Linked DNA regions of Homo sapiens: regions 1 and 3 are each linked to region 2. The links are contacts of gene promoters, found by promoter capture Hi-C in blood cells and fetal thymus (Javierre and others, 2016). All regions are on one chromosome and are shown on one strand. Each heading gives the region's core, a stretch centred on a gene start or on the middle of the fragment in contact. The rest is flanking DNA. Distances are from core to core; before and after follow the strand shown. Region 1 has its middle 25 kb from the start of FABP7. Region 2 holds the start of HSF2 (heat shock transcription factor 2). Region 3 overlaps PKIB (cAMP-dependent protein kinase inhibitor beta).

Region 1 (3,843 bases), core at 184-2,683, 350 kb after region 2:
CCTGGAGATATTGGCATGATGCTGGCTGAATTTCTCCTTTATGAATAAGCTCTGAGGAAACTTCTTGCATAAGGGGTGAAGAGTTGGTTTTTCTATAGATAGAATCTCTTGGACCTTTGTCTAAGCTAGTACACTTCTGAAAGTGAAAGGGGACACTTAATAATTATGCCAGGACACCATGGGTGAATTTGGATAGTCTCCAGCGAAGTAAGCCTTGTGGCTCTATTTAGAGTTTACAGACAGTGTAGTCTGTTTCCCAACCCAAAATTTTAGCCATCTCTACCCCCTCTACATTGTTATTGCCTAGTCTTTTGCCATCACCTGCTTAGTTCAAGAAAGTTATTAGTCAAGCTGAGGCTTGCATAGGGTTAGTGGTCTCTCTCTGGTTTGTTGAGTCCACTAACTAAGCCTGTGTTGTTTCCATTGTTTTTTGCTGTGGTTTCTTTAAGAGTCCCAGCTAAAGACAAAATGCCATTTTCATAAAGGCAAAGCAAAAGAAAGATGCTTACTCTAGACAAAATGCTTAGCAGCTCTCTGAAAAAAATTCTGTCTGCGAGACTAACCGTTTCTCTCTGGCTTTATAATGAAATTCCAATTCCTCTTCAAAAACAAGATCTGTCTCCCAGCAGGTGCCCAGGCCACTGCTTTCTGGCAGCCCTGCAGGGTAACTTGGGCTATCTGTATTGCTGTGCCTTTGTAGATATCTGTTTCGGAAATTCAGAACTTCAAGAATGGGCTCTAAAGATAATTTTCACCCCTCCCTAAGTGTTCTCCACTGATTTAGCAAATTGAATCTTGGCAATTTACAAGGCTCTGCTGCCTCTTGTTTCTTTCTTTACATAGACTTCTGTGCATCTACTCAGAAAATTGAAAGCATTCAGTAATTCGCTCACACTCAGTCTCATCACTGTCTACTGGTTTATCTAGAACCGTATTGACCTTGGAGTCTGCCTCCTCCCCAAGTTCTCGCCCATCTGTCACCTCAAGATGACTTGCTGTGGTGCACATATTTGTCATGGATGAGCTCCTACACACAGTGGGTACTGTCACCGATAGAGGGTCATGACTGCAGGTTGTCCAGGTTCTTGGCATTTTGAACAAAGAATTGGATAAAACGCCCAGCAAAACGAAGGAATGAAGCAACAAAAGAACGAAAGCAGGGATTTATTGAAAATGAAAGTACACTCCACAGTGTGGAAGTGGACTCGAGCAGCAGCTTAAGGGCCTGGATACAGAATCTTCTTGGGTCCAAATCCCGCCCCCCCCCCGCCCACAGAAGTTTTCCATTGGCCACTTCATGCTCACCTCATGTAACTGAAGTGGTAGCTGGCAATCAGTCTGATTGGTTGCAGACAGCTACCATTCAGAGGCTGGAGTGAAGTTACAAAGTTGCAAACAAAGACCAGACGGGCACTCAGGATAATTTGTTGCCAGTCTTCCATCTGCCACGCAGAAAAGGTCAAAGGGAGAAGCCTCTGGTCCTTTTATTACTTAGGCATGGAAAGTTAGGGTTTTCCTTTCAATTTAGTTATAGGAAGTCAGCATGAAACAGCCTTAGGTTCCCTGCCTTCAGACCCTATTCTCCTGCCTCAGGTACCATTATCAGCTCACAACACTTAGCTGTATAAGAAATATAATTTTATTTTTCTAAATTTAAACTTAGTTTTAAATAGGAGTTCCACAAAGTGGTTTCTGCCTAATCTTTTTCAATCCTAGATAAGCTCAGTTCACTTAAGGATGGTCTTCAGTTGATGAATGTGTTATATTTCATAGAGAAAATTAAACAAATATTTCCTCATCTTCTTCCACCAAACCACCAGCTTCCTGCTTCAGTGTCCACGTGCTCTGCCTTCCTCCTCCCTATTTCAATGGAAGAAATGTCTCCATGCCTGAGGCAAGTCCTCCACTGTGCTGCAGCTCTCAGACGCTTCCAACTTCTGGACGACTTTTCTGAAATGATCCACCTTTTCTTCATTTGCCCCAAGACCTTCAAGATCTCAACTTTTGTCAAAGGTTCAGGCTTCTTAAACTGAAAAACATTCGCTTTAAAACTCCTTCCTCCCATGCTCCCCATCCCCCCACCCCCCACCCACTTTTCAGTGGTAACAATGGGTGTTTTGTCCAATTCATTCAGATCATTGTTTCCTTCTGTCTCTGTGTAGCCTCCTTTGAAGTACATGTGCTAAGACTATCCTCTTTTCCGTCCCCACTTGTTAGCCTAAGAACTTCCCCTCATACCTCTTGATTTCATGAAAATTGAATTACCTGGCTCACCACCTATCTCTTAAACTCAGCATCATTTTCATAGCCCTCGCACCCACACAGAAGATCTATCCAACTCCCAGGACTTGCAGTTCCCTGGTGTCCCTTTCAATTACAATGTTCTCCACCTAAACTCACCAACCTTTCTACTGGTTATTTCCCAGGTATTGACATCACCACTAACTGTACCACTCCCAGATTCTCATTCTCTAACAATCACTTTTTTTTTTTTCCAGTTCACTACTTCCAATAGTGCTACTCCAAAAGGCTTTAACACCAGGGATTTCTAATCAATTTACTCTACCATTTCTTCCCTGTGTCCTCTCTCTCTCACTTACTCACCTTGCCAATACTTGGCTTATATGCCATGATCTATTGCTGTACTTCCTTGCATATATCATAAAGTCACTTGACCCTTTCTCTCTCCATTGTCCTCACCAAGTGAAACTCAACCCTAGCAAAATTCATCTCTCTTCCTACTCTGGGCTGCATTTGAACACTAAAAAACATGTACTTCTTTTTATTATTAATTTACATTTACGTTACATCTCATTATAATATAGTATGAACTATTATATTATAAAATATATTATAAAGTGTGAATTTTTACTTATAACCTTGATTCTTAAGTGAGAATTCAACATTTTCTACTCCTCCCAATATGTTTTGTATTTTTTTTTTTTTTTTTGAGACGGAGTCTCGCTCTGTAGCCCAGGCTGGAGTGGTGCAATCTCGGCTCACTGCAAGCTCTGCCTCCCGGGTTCACGCCATTCTCCTGCCTCAGCCTCCCGAGTAGCTGGGACTACAGGCGCCTGCCACCACGCCCGGCTAATTTTTTTTTTTAATTTTTAGTAGATATGGAGTTTCACCGTGTTATCCAGGATGGCCTTGATCTCCTGACCTTGTGATCTGCCCGCCTCAGCCTCCCAAAGTGCTGGGATTACAAGCATGAGCCACCGCGCGTGGCCTCCTCCCAGTATGTTTCTTGAATGAATACCTTCCCAATTTCTATGAGGTGCTGGGTCTGACCAGCAGACCCCAGCCAAACGACAGATGAAAAAATTCACACAGACACAGGTATCCATTGAAAGAGTGGGTTAGGGGACCAGGCCACTTAAAGACATCAAGGAGGATGCTGTAAAGAGTCACAGCGGCTGCAGTCCCAACAAGCCAGTGCTGCGGGCGTTTATACAGTACAGATTTAATGACAAAGGCTTTGAGTCAACACACTTGTGGGTAATTAACATGGCCGCCCCTCCTCCGGGGATAGAGCAGTTCTGCGCTCCCCCCTTTCCCCTCCTCTCCCCAACGGGAGAGAGCAGATGATTACAGGCCAGGTTCCTGGAGACATGAGTAAACAAGCTATTCAGATAAACTCCCCTGCATTCTTTTGTACCTACTTCTCGCCCTTTGCCCTGGGGTAAGAACCACCGCCTTTGGCTCATTCTTCCCCCAAGCTTTGCAAAACCTCCTGGCCTTCCAAGAAGGTTTGCATCTTTCTATAATTTTTATAATTTTTCCCACCACCCTGATTGAACTCCTACAGTGAGGTAACTATTTCATATTTTCCTTAACTGCTGA
Region 2 (3,769 bases), core at 1,168-3,667:
AAGCTGTCCAGGTGATTCTGCGCTAAAGTTTGAGACACATTGGTGTAAATTTAAAAAGCATGTTTCAGACTACGAAAGACCTGGTTTCAATTCCAACCTTAACTAGATGATTTTGGATACATCATCTAAGTTTTCTGGTGCCAAGGTTTTCTTATCTGGTTAATAACTTATCCTTGTCACTGCCCTTATAAGTATTACAAATACTACCTGATAAGTGATATTGCTCATTTGCTTACTGGAAGGCTTCCCTCTCCAAGTGATTCAGACGCATGCTTAAGTTTGAGAACCATTTGTTTCAAACTTACGGTCTATAAGATGCCATACATTGGAAACAGAATCAGCTACACAATTTGCAAGATCCATTGCAAAATGAAAATGTACAGTCCCTTGTTCAAAAACTGAGAATTTCAAGAGGATGAGAACAGAGCATTAAACTAAGTATGGCACCCCACTAAGCCCAGCCCTATGAATGCCCAGCCTTTGAATGTCCAAAGACAAGTTTCTGCTTCTATCTAATCACACCTTCTTTTTTTAGAAGAAAATAATATAATGCCATGAAAGTAGGCCACATTTCCTCCTTAGACACTGCCATTCTTACCTCCTGAGCTGTTGCCCTCCATAGACAGACATGATCATTAGCTTCCTGGTTTTTGCTCATTCTGTTGTCTTCCTTTTAGCTATTCAAATATATTTGTACCTCAAGACCCAACTTAAGGTCCCTATCTGCCATGAAATCCTTCCTTACCACCTTAACCTACTAATCTGTCTTTTTAAACTTATCTAGTACTTATTTTATACAAAACATTTAGCTCTTTTTGTATATATTGAGTGCTGATCACTGTGGTCATATTGTTTCTTGAGTTTGAATATAAGCATCTTGAGCTTTGAAACAGTGTCATCATTGTACAATGGAAAGGGCACATACTTTTGAGCTCAATAAAGCTTGGGTGTAAATACTCTCCCATTTACTTGCTGTGACTGAAGAAATTAATCAACTTTTGAGTCTCAGAATCTTCTCTGGGAAAATGGGATAATAAAACCTAGTTCATTGGGTTGTTGTGAGGATTCAATAATATATGTAAAGCCCTTGGCATATATAAGGGCTCATCAAATATTACTTCCTCTATCACATGCATGCCTCCATATATCTGATTTTGCTTCAGCCAACATCCCAGTGCTGAGCACAAAGGCAGCATTCACTAAATACTTGCTCATTGGAAGAGATATACATATATCTTCCATTAAATGATAGATATATATTTAATGTACTATTTTACATTCACCCAAGAAGTAAACCAATCCTATGTTGAAGTTTTGTATGTTATCTCTGACTTGTTTGTAAGTTTTTGCCTTCACATGCTGACTTTTGTAAAAAAAAAAAGTCGAATTTTGTAGACTTCATATTTTCAAAGCATTTGCACAGCCATTATAGTATTAAAGACACTCTTAGTGGGTAAAAAGATAGATCTTATTCCCAGTCAAGAAATGGAAAAAACTGGCACTGGTGGCTAAGGAATTGTTCTAAATGACAGAACCAGTGTATTTTAATATACAGAAAAATGTCCAAGAGGCTTTATCTAAACTGAGATCTACTGACTCCTTTTCCATTGTTTTTTCCACTATACCAATCTCTTAGGCAAAAAAGACTATATCTGTAAAGTATACGCAGGAAAAACTATTTTAATTAACTAAAATAGTACAAATGAGTCTATTTCTTTTTATTCTGGGTACAGAGTAGGCACTTGATGACTGGATTAAAAACAGCACATGATATATCAATTGCAGTTCCTGGTTTACAGTTTTAAGTAATCGAGAGTGAGTTATTTAAACTGCTCTTTTTGATAAACATATTTTAAAGAGGGCTTTTTCTCCCAATGAAAATGTAAGAACAAGTTTCATTATTTTTAAGACAATTTCAATTTGGGGCCTAGCACATCATGCTTGAGAGCTGGTTTTTTCCTTATGCAAATGGATCCTTTCTCTAAACTGGTGCAAACCACACTTTGCCTGCCAAACTTATGACTCAAAGGCCCTGAAGGGTTTCTGTAGCCTCCCAGCCACAGCCCAGAAACCATAAGCTGTTTCCACGTGAAACATCCAAACACGGTCTCCCAAGCCTAAGTCTGCTACCATCAAGGCTTCTGTATAAAAGGCAAATGAGGAGGCAGCGCCCCCTTCTGCTCCCACCCCCTTCTGCTCCCACCCCCTTCATGTCAGCAGCAGCCAATCGCTTTTCTCTGTCGTGCAGTCGGCTCCTGGGATTGGCCAGGGACGGGACAGGCGCGGAACCACTGCGCGCACAGGCGGAGCGCGGAGACTTGTCCGTCACGTGCGGCCGCCCGGCCTCTCGGCCTTGCCGCGCGCCTGGCGGGGTTGGGGGGGCGGGGACCAAGATCTGCTGCGCCTGCGTTGTGGGCGTTCTCGGGGAGCTGCTGCCGTAGCTGCCGCCGCCGCTACCACCGCGTTCGGGTGTAGAATTTGGAATCCCTGCGCCGCGTTAACAATGAAGCAGAGTTCGAACGTGCCGGCTTTCCTCAGCAAGCTGTGGACGCTTGTGGAGGAAACCCACACTAACGAGTTCATCACCTGGAGCCAGGTACGGTCAGGCCACGGCGGCCTCTGAACCCCCTGAATAACCGCCTCCTCACTCGCTCTCCTGCGGGGTGGTCTCTCGCGGCCTTGCGGCTCGACGCTGTCTGCGAGGCCCGCGGTGCGGGGCCTTGGCGTTCAGCCTCGCGGGGGACCCCCTGTATTGTTCGCTCGGGGAGCCGCGGGGGCCCGGCCGGCAGCGCCGCTCTCCTCAGGCCGCGGTGGGGGAGGGGCGGCCCGCGCGGGGCGTAGCGGCCCAGGCAGCCCCTTAACGGTCCGGTCCGCGTTCGGAACCGGCCCGGCGTCGCGAGGGGAATCGGCGAGCCGAGGGCGCGGGAGCCTCTTTACTGCACACTCATCCTCCGTCCTCCCGCCCGGCTCAGGGGTTACAAATCGCGGAGGGGACAGGGAGCCCAGGGCCAGGATCATCAACGTGGGGCTTTATAGGAGGCGATCTTTACCTCAGCGACCGATCACCCCCAGTTCCCCCAACATTGCTTTGCATCTGGCATCTTTATGTGGAGAGCAGTCAGGGCAATAGACATACGTTCAAACGCAGGTTACTGCTTATCAGTTGGTTTTAAAAATATATAGAAATTAACAAATTATTCTTTTGAGATTCTGTGCTATTTGTATAATGGGATTATTAGGATTGTTTTAATAAAGTACTAATAGGTGGTAACTTAGTAGTTACTAAATTTCGCTGAACAGTTACCAGCAGAGGGGCATATCGATGTGTTGATTATTGGTTTGATCTCAACTCTGCTTCTAAACAAGCATGACCTTAGTCCAGCCCTTTATCTTGTCTGGCCTAAGTTAAATCTTTCATAAGATGGATGGGTTGCCTAGGTGACCCAAGACCTATATCAGTCCCAAATACAAGATTTTAGGCAGAATGATTATTTACATCCACAGTGCATGTGCATTAGAATACACTCCTAGGCTGTTGGAATCATTTTTATGAAGGAAAGTGGTTAACTCTTATTGTAGATGATCACCTATTGAGGCATATTTTCATATGTGTAGTTCTTGAGAAGAATAAGTGAAAACTACCTGCATAGTGCCTGGCACCTGTTAAGTGCTGAGTAAATGTTATCTCCCGTCCTCCTTTCTTTCCTGTTCTCCTATTATAGGAACTCTTAGTTTTATTTACTTTTGTCTTAACAGGGAGTGAGCACCA
Region 3 (3,543 bases), core at 16-2,515, 320 kb after region 2:
GGCAATTCCAAACTATTCCTGGACTCCTAAGGACCATGCTAAGCTCAATTTGCATTTCTTGCATTCTATGAACCAAAAATATTGTTTCTAATGTCAAATGCACCATGTTTTGTGACTATGCCATTTAGTGTTTAGCATTTCCTGAATTGAAGTTACTCCCTCCAACTACCATGAAAAGTTGGATTTGTTCTGTGTAGCCCAAGGTTTACATATTTCTGCCCTTTTTAGGTATCACAAATGAGCATCTCCATCCTTCGGTCAATACTTAGTGCATTCTGTGTTAGGGTGTCTATCTCTGCAGGCATATATTTTCTCTCCCTTTTGAGAGTGCAAGTTCCCTAAAGATGGAAAGTATACCATACGTCTGTACTCTCAGGCCTAGCTGAGAGGCTAGCATTACATAGCTTTTCAATACAATGCTTCTGCTTTCGAGATGCTATTCAGAGTTGACTTCTCAGGAGAGATTCATTCCAAAACATAATAAAAAGGTCAGTTTTAGAGTAAGCAATAACTGTTACCTTCCTCCCTTTATAGTGAATGATCTCTTGAGAATTCTTTCTTAGAGAGAGACAATTGCTAGGGAGATAAAGGGTGCTTAGGAAAGAACTAGTAATTACCATGTCAACCTGAAGGTAAAAAAACCTAAAATAGGTCCTACTCTTCAACCATTACCATGAGTCTATCGAAAATTAGGTCTCAGACCAGAACAGATCAAAATATTTAGTGCTCTCTAGGGAAAAAGCTTTTGAGATAAAGTGGAATTTCTTATTTCTAAGAAGTAGGAAAAGAGTGTTTTGTTTGGTCTCTACAAATTATAGTTATTTGGTTTCAGCCTGAACAATCACCACAAGCAAATACTGGCAGAAAGAGTCTCTACAGGAGTGGTCAAAAAAGTCAGTTTTCATTTCCTTCCAAGCCCTAGTTTGGCTGATCCATCCACAGAAAAGCAGAACAAAAGGCAAGGGATTACTGCACCCTTAAGCATCCAAGTGGCTCATTCGGCTCAGGGGTTATTTTTAGCAATCTGGCTCACACTGAGGGCTTCCTGCTCTATTCAGCAAATGTGCAAATGGATGCTGCAGGACCGTAACAGTAGACATTGATGAAGGTTGTGATCAATGATTAGACTCTCAAGCCTGTTGTGTTTTTGATCTAGCCATGCCTTTCAACCACTGTGGTGAACATTTACTTCTGAATAGGCTCATCTTCTTCATATGCACATTCTATTTGTAGATGTTGCTATGAGGACAGATTCATCAAAAATGACTGACGTGGAGTCTGGGGTCGCCAATTTTGCATCTTCAGCAAGGGCAGGCCGCCGGAATGCCTTACCAGACATCCAGAGTTCAGCTGCCACAGACGGAACCTCAGATTTGCCCCTCAAACTGGAGGCTCTCTCCGTGAAGGAAGGTAATACTCAAAATCCTCTTACAATTAACAGCACTTGTCCCTTCTTAACCAAGCCTTTTCTCTGGACAGTCTTTCTTTTATCTAGTTAAAAGTGCTCAGTTTCCTTATTTGTTTACTTAAACCTCTCAGCTTTTGTTTAAGGCTTAGTAGATGTTCAGCCTTTTCCAAAGTAGAATATTTCATCTTTTTTCTTATGCTGTGTATGTGGAAACTGAAGTTTTATTTATTCATTGCATGTGTATAGTCATGCACAAAGCTAGTAATTGGGAATACAAAGGTGAACAAATATGATCTTTCTCTCAATGAGCTTTCAAGTTTATTAAGAAGTATTCATAAATAAAATAATTTTTCTTCTGCCATCCATTGACAAATCACTTTGGAAGCTTCTGCTTCACTGTAGTGTGCTACAAGCCCTTTAATTTTCAAATCTAGGAAGAAGTTTACTATCAAGTAGAGATGAGATTCTTTCAACAGAATTTTTGTATAAAAGGTGATACTTTATATGAAAGTATAAGGATACTTTAAATAAAGTGTTAAAAGGTGCCTTTCATTTAAAAACCCTCATGGAGATTTAAAAAAACAAAACAAAACCCTGAATCAAAGTTAAAAAATACACTCAGAGAGATTAAAGATCATTTTAGTTCCAAGCCATTAGCAAAATACTCACGTTTTGTGCCCCATTTTAGACTCTCAGGTGGACTCTAGTGTATGTTTGGGAATTTATTCTTGGTGACAATGAAGCAAGTGAGAACCAGAAGCCGCTTGCATCTAACCCATTCCCGGGAGCCCAAGAAGAAGGCTCTTGGTTCTTTGCTTCAGGAGGTTATTTACTACCTGGTAAAGTTGCAAATGTTCCTGGTTCATTCTCTATGAAATAGTTATATCCTTGTAGGCCAGGAGCTGTGACCAGATCCTGCAGTTCCATGATTACCTCATCTTTTTCCAAAGGCCACTATTTCTCATATGCAACACTATAGGTGAGAGTAAAAAAGCATACACATCAACGTAAAATATTATAAGAAGAATGAAAAGAAGGAAAAGATAAGGGAAGAAAGAAATAAACATATATGTAATGTTTTTGGCCTTTTAAGTTTGAAAATGTAATATGACCATAGGAAGATGTCGTTGCTGTTCAAGAGTCCATTCTAAACTAGTGAGGTAGAGAAGGCAATTACTTGTTCGTGTAAAAACCGTAATTAAATTTTATACACCTTCAACACACACAAAACCTTAATGTTTACTGACATTACTTAATCAAGCAAAAGAGAGCAAATACACTGTGGGAGAGTCAGCAGTGTTCTCCATTTTATTTTGGTCACTAGAGAGACTAGGATCTGAAAGAATATGTTCCTGTTTTTATATTTTTCTTCATATCATTTTGAAATAAAGTCAAAGGCATCAATTAAGAAACTGAAAATGTTAAAGATGAATTTACAAATAACACCAGATGCTAAAGATTACACAAAAGGGTGAAGGCAAGTTGTAAAGTGAAATATGCCAGGCACAGAAAGGTAAATACCACATGATCTTATTCATGGAATCTGAAAGAGACAAACTGCTAGAATCAGAGAGTAGAATGGTAGCTACCAGGAAAATTAGGAAAATGATGGTCAAAAGAGATAAAATTACAATTAGACAGGAGAAGTAAGTTCAGGGGATCTATTGTAGCAACATGATGACTATAGTTAATAACAATGTATTGTATACTTGAAGATTGCCAAGTGAGTAGATTGTGAGTGTTCCCACCACACATACACACACACACACACACACACACACACACACACACACACACACACACACACAAAGTATGTGAGGTAATGGATATGTTAATTAGCTTGATTTAGCCACTCCACAATGTATGCATGTATCAAAACATCATGTTGCACAACAACATAAATATATATAATTTTTATTTGTCAATGAAAAATTAAAGAGTAGAAAAAATACACAGAAGGATATAGGCTTACATAGGTAGATGACATAGATAATATTTTATTAACAAAGTCACAAGTAAGCAGTTTGAAGGCTTATTTTTTTCTCATTAGCTAAGCATAGATGTTATTATGAATTTTAAAATGAATGGTTTCCAGTTGCTAATGAAAACTGAAAGCGGGAGTCTGTCTCAGATGT

The links. The method cuts DNA at HindIII sites, captures the fragments that hold promoters and counts their contacts. A CHiCAGO score of 5 or more calls a contact.
Region 1: a contact is called between a fragment that was not itself captured here and the fragment with the promoter of HSF2 in region 2, in 1 of 17 cell types (monocytes). The highest score is 6.4, in monocytes.
Region 3: a fragment that was not itself captured here is called in contact with the fragment with the promoter of HSF2 in region 2 in 1 of 17 cell types (monocytes); the score reaches 6.9 in monocytes.

The regions. Positions count from the first base shown.
Region 1 is chr6:122,752,527-122,756,369 of GRCh38, forward strand. It overlaps a transcript of FABP7 not described here. Among named protein-coding and RNA genes, the nearest start is that of FABP7, 25 kb to the right of the region's middle. RefSeq lists an enhancer at 3,182-3,761. The HindIII fragment of the contact is 4,567 bases long and covers 1-3,717 here.
Region 2 is chr6:122,397,235-122,401,003 of GRCh38, forward strand. HSF2 (heat shock transcription factor 2) reads left to right here and starts at 2,418. Exons shown (of 13, transcript NM_004506.4): 1 at 2,418-2,596. The coding sequence starts at 2,504. RefSeq lists silencers at 2,154-2,473, 2,744-2,863 and an enhancer at 2,714-3,213. The HindIII fragment of the contact is 3,471 bases long and covers 941-3,769 here.
Region 3 is chr6:122,716,554-122,720,096 of GRCh38, forward strand. It overlaps PKIB (cAMP-dependent protein kinase inhibitor beta), which reads left to right. Exons shown (of 5, transcript NM_181795.3): 4 at 1,234-1,410. The coding sequence starts at 1,242. Among named protein-coding and RNA genes, the nearest start is that of FABP7, 61 kb to the right of the region's middle. The HindIII fragment of the contact is 1,051 bases long and covers 741-1,791 here.